2 separate regions of the Homo sapiens genome follow, and region 2 is linked to region 1. Evidence: promoter capture Hi-C in human tissues and cell types (Jung and others, 2019). All regions are on one chromosome and are shown on one strand. The core of a region is centred on a gene start or on the middle of the fragment in contact, and the rest is flanking DNA. Distances in the headings are between cores, read along the strand shown. Region 1 holds the start of AKAP6 (A-kinase anchoring protein 6). Region 2 overlaps AKAP6 (A-kinase anchoring protein 6).

The links. Contacts are between HindIII fragments. The study calls those that stand out against the background at their distance.
Region 2: a fragment that was not itself captured here is called in contact with the fragment with the promoter of AKAP6 in region 1 in 2 of the 25 tissues and cell types used here (dorsolateral prefrontal cortex and hippocampus).

Annotation. Positions count from the first base shown.
Region 1 is chr14:32,327,971-32,330,670 of GRCh38, forward strand. It overlaps AKAP6 (A-kinase anchoring protein 6), which reads left to right and starts at 1,328. Exons shown (of 14, transcript NM_004274.5): 1 at 1,328-1,438. The HindIII fragment of the contact is 5,497 bases long and covers 1-2,310 here.
Region 2 is chr14:32,428,501-32,431,200 of GRCh38, forward strand. The region is part of intron 1 of AKAP6 (A-kinase anchoring protein 6); the gene reads left to right. Among named protein-coding and RNA genes, the nearest start is that of AKAP6, 100 kb to the left of the region's middle. The HindIII fragment of the contact is 6,611 bases long and covers 1-2,700 here.

The DNA.
Region 1 (2,700 bases), core at 78-2,577:
ATTGGCACTTCTCAGGCATTTTATTAGCTCCTGTTTACAGAGACACTGCCTGAATTCCTTCTGCCACTCATCCCACACCGCCTATGCTGGTGGTTAACAGTGCCATTTTAAAATCTCAAGCAGGAGGAGACAACATAATTGTCTCATGTTTTAAGCTTTTGGAATGTTGTTCTTTTTCAGAGTTGTGAAGACGGAGTGGATACAGGTCAACTTGATTCTGCTTTTCTCTATCAATGGCCTGCAAATATTAAATATGCAAAACATAGGCTGCTCTGTCCATATCTCCTTCTCCCCAGTTCTCACCACATGACGTTGATTTCTGCTCAGGACTGGAAAGAAGTGATTGCTTTAGATTTGCTTTTCTTTTACCAACTGGAGAAATGCCTTACCGTGTCTTGTTTAAATGTGGCTTTTCACACAGTTCCAGCTTTTGGGGTTGGGGAGGGGCACAAATAATCTGTGTGGTAGGCAGTTTTATTGTTCAGAAAAGAAGAAAACAGACCCCAATGTTTGGAATGCCAACGATTTAGGAAGTTTCTAGCAGGTCTGCTACTTGTTCCAACCACTAGGTTTGATCCCAGAAAAGACTCACATGCGTTTTGGCCATGAGAAGGAGGGGTTCCCTGCAGGCCAAAGGAAGGGTCAGTAGAAGTTGAGGGTGGTGTGTTGTGCCCCTCTAGATTCCAAACTTCCCTTTGCTGCCTATCTGATGACCAGGTGAAAGCTGGGTTTATTCTGCATGGGAAGGTTCTGTGGGTTGGTGTTCATCAGGGAAAATAACCAGGACAGACTTCATTGGCCAAGGGTTTGCCCATGTTTTGAGAATTAAAACTTGTTTACTTGAGAGTTAGAGTCATTTGGTCAGCTGTTTATATTCCATTTTTAATTATTTTTGTGCTCGCTGTTTTGTTCTTTTGGTCTTTGACAGATGAGCAAAAATTCTTTTTAATAACTTTTAAAAAGCTATCCCAGTGCTGACCAGGGAGGAAAAAGTGATCAAATTGTCTAATAAGGAAACATTGTACATTTCAGTTTTTATTTGCTTAGTACTAATTCTATTTTCTCCTCCCACCTTTTTTTTCTAAATGTATAACAACAAAGGGGGAGATAATTTTTGTTTTTTCCAAAATGCTTTCAGGGAAATCCCTTTTAAACCTATGGATTTTAGTCCAATGAGGAATCCTCTTCCTTTGGTCTAAATTTTGCATATCGTCTGTTTCTTACAGGGCTTCCGTATTGTCTCAGGCTCCACTGGAAATGCAGCAAGGATTCCTAGCACATCCCAGTTGCCATAGCAACAGCAGTCTTTCCCATAATGAGCTGCATCATCTGAACTGATGTCACAGCATCATGCAGCAGGTCAAACAAGGCATCTCCTAGTATTGCATCCTACAGATGTGCTGTAAACATCAAAAGAAGACGGTGGGATCAGGAGATGGTGAGTGTTAAATGTCTGGGCCTTAATTGCACGGCTGTTTTGTTGGTTAGTCGGTGTCTGCTAAGGCGGAGATTGGGGGATGTTGTCTCTGCTTAAAATGGACTGGGGAAAGAAGGGCTGTTTTACCTAAATCGTTTTTCAGGCTGCCGGGTTAAGACAAAGGCCTGTAAGAGTCATATAGGAATTAAAATATGTAGAATTATTCTTGCTCCAGCTCTGTCTGTTATTTTTAAGTGTTCTTACAGAATTTTTCATAAACATAAGATGATTTTTCAATTGCAAAACCCCAGATAAGCTTTAAAATGAGTAGTTAACAGTATTTAAGCATTGTAAAAATATAGATTTCTTTTTGGGAGGCAGAGCTAATTGGCCCCCTCTTTGCTCTTGTGAATTATGAAATATTCAGTGATTTGCAGTATGAAATTCATTATTTACCTCGGTTGGGTTTCAGTTTCTTCATGGCAAGGAACAAATGCTGAATAAGCATTTGACATAACCCTGATGTGAAAGGGGATCTCTTGCATATTCAAGACAGAATTTATTAAAAGCATAAAAACCTAAACCAAATGAAATTATTTGAGCCTTTTGATCTATATGGTAGTTCTTCAACCCATGTCCTTCAGAGTTAGTTGAAAGACTGCCACATATTTTTCCATCTCTAGCTAGTCTCTGAAATAGCTGGAGTTGTTTGCAGGCTGACTTGTAACTGAGAAAGGAACAAGTCTCCTCTCTGCGGCAGTTGCAGTGAAGGGTAACCCTGGGAGAGCCTCTGAAGTGGCAGTGGTGTTGCCATCCCTTGCTTAACTTTAACAAAAATCTGGGTATGATGAATAAATATCAGGGTCCTCAGTGGTTGTAGGGATTACAGACCTCTGGACTCAGTCATAACCTCAACTCAATTCCAAAACTCTAAACACGTATCATTTTCATTTCAACTCCTAGCTCTGTTTTTAGGCATCTTTATTATTATTATTATTTTCTAAAAAATTAGTCTGACAGTGTCAGATAAGGAGCAGAATGTTGCCTTTTGTTTTGGGAAATGAAATGGATTTCCCTGGTACAGCTGATTGCTACTAGGGGAGAGAAAGGAGGAGGCACATGTCAGTTCAATTGATCAATATGTCCACTTAGAATCAGGGAGTGGTCTTGTGGCTTAATGCTGCCAAATTGATAGTTTTTACTCAAAAAGTCTTACACGAAAGAATGGCAACCATTGAATTCCTCTTCTTTTAGTCTGTTTATTGGGGCTAAAGAGATATATC
Region 2 (2,700 bases), core at 47-2,546, 100 kb after region 1:
ACACCGGGGAGAGGAGGAGCCAAATGATTAATCCTGAAGGGCCGTTAGGGAAAAAACCATTTACAGTGAGTACAATAGGCAAGATACCCGGCTTTTCTGTTCTTTTATTTAAGAGAGAAAATTGTAAAAGAAAGGAGAGAGAGGTGGGAAGCTTTGATGGCGATGTAGCTGAACTTTTTTGTCTCCTGATTTGGTCGAATGAACTTTTCTGATTTAAATGTGTTTGTTTATTCAAGTTGAATGCATTCTGCTAGCGTCAAGCTCCAACCCAAAACTTGTGGACATGAGATCGCAGAAACAGTCCTTGTTAGTAAGCCATCCATGGCATGTTTCTATAGGATGATAAATAGAATAAGGTGGAAAAACCCTTTTATAATTTAAAAAAAAGCCTTAAAATCATTACTGCTTTCAGCTATTGCACTTTAATTATTGCCTCTTCTTTGGATTTGTGTAAAGGAAGGGATTTGATGGATGTTATTTTTAACAGCAGCTGGGATAAAGGTGGTATTATCGCTAATGCTGGAAAGGTGGCCGCAGACAAGCATTTGATTAGGGGGAGGGAGATGAGAGGTCACTGGGTTCCAAAAAGCTGTCTGATCACTCCTTTCACACCGTCTTGGAGCCAGAGTTGTAACTCGGTAGGCACCTGTGTGCACTTGATCAAATTTTTTTATTTTCACCATCAGAACTTGTAGTCTAAGCTTTTAAAAAAATGTCTCTGTGACTAGAAAGGAATCTTATCTCAAGATGACTTGTAAACAAGAATTCAAATCTTATATTATTTACAGATATAGACTCATGCTCAATTTCCTGCTTTCTGTTTGCATTCAAATGGAGTAATTAGTTTGATGGGAAAGAAACTTGAATAGTCCTGATAAGAACAAGAAAAATATTCACAAAGACTGTTACTATACGTTTCTACAATTTGAAGCATTTTTAAAAAATTATAATTTATCTTTAAAATCAGATGTGATTTTGTTAAAATCAGAAAAAGAGTATGACCATCCATATATGCTACATTTAAATGTGAACTACTAAAAATTGAAAAATGTTTGTAGTAATTGCTTTTCATGAAAATGGGCAATTAATCCATTTTATGCTACTACCCAGGCTTGCTGTGCTTAATGACACATATACCATTCTTTTCCTAGTGGCAAAGGTATATGTGAAGGAAAGTAAATAGAAGTTGAAATGAAACTTGAGTAAAGCACGCTTTGTTTTATCTCTATGGGTTATAGAAATTCTCTTGTGTGTAGTCTGATCAGTTGAATGTGGAAACATAGCATCTAGTTAGAAGTTTTATAGTTACAGGAAAATTTTGCTTTGGCAGCTTGAATGTAAGATTTCTTTGTACTTGACTCATATAGGATGCACATCTTCTCCTCTCCAGCTATGCTTTTGTTTCATATTTTTATTTTATTCTGGTTTGTCTTCTACATATATAACCACATCTGTTTTGTCAGTCTTAAGTGGCAAACTTCTAGAGGGGAGAATCTCCCATGTTTGTTCCTCTGGGAAGAATTAACAACACAAAACGTGTAAATAATGACTTACAAAACGCTGTTTTCATGATAGTAATTTATTCCTTTTCATTAAGTAGGACACATCTATCAATAATACTTGTAGGCTTTGACAAAATGGAGAACCATCATTTAGTAGCTACACAGCTCTCAAGATAGGCAGGAAACTTCCAACAGCTTTGAAATCTCTGGATAAATAACCCTAGGCAATCACAGATTCTTAGGGCAAATGGGATCCTATTGACTATCTAGTTCCGTTTTGTCATTTTACAGATGAAGAAACTGAGGCCAAGAAATGTATGGAGGATTTTGCCCCAAATCATATAAAACTGCAGTGTGCTTAGTGCGTGGACTGATGGTATATATGGAAATGTTGCAGGTTGGGACATAAGCTAATTCTTTAGTGTGTTTTTTAGTTTACGGTAGGATGTGTATTCCCAAGAAGGCCCTGCCTTGACTTAGGAGTTTCAGAGAAAACACGGTGACTAAGCACTGTTTTTTCAGTTGTGCAGGGCTTTGGGGCAGGGTTTTGCGGTGAGTGTGTATGTGTCAGTGTAGCTTAAACAGTTCATTGTATGCTGCCCTGGCTCAGCATTCAGTTTTCTAGTTTCAGTGACTCTGGCTTCTTAGAAGAGGGAACCACTGTGACACCAGTGTCTTCATTTATAACCAGTTCTAAGTTCTTGACCTAGAAACCTTATTAACCTTTATGTATCAGATTCCTTCTATAGCATTGTGATTCTAAACTTACCCCCAGAGGGCAGTGGGTCGATTAATAATTTTTTTTAAATATTAAAAATTTGGGGCTGGGTGCGGTGGCTCATGCCTGTAATCCCAGCACTTTGGGAGGCCGAGGTGGGCGGATCACGAGGTCAGGAGATGGAGACCATCCTGGATAACACAGTGAAACCCTGTCTCTACTAAAAAAAGTACAATTAGCCAGGCATAGTGGCAGGCACCTGTAGACCCAGCTACCTGGGGGGTTGAGGCAGGAGAATGGCGTGAACCCGGGAGGCAGAGCTTGCAGTGAGCTGAGATGGCACCACTGCACTCCAGCCTGGGCAACAGAGTGAGACTCCATCTCAAAAAAAAAAAAATTGGAGAAATTGGAATCAGCCTGAGGCTGGGGTATGGTTTATGAAGAAGTGGTATGGTAGCTCACTCTTCCTGGAGTTTTATC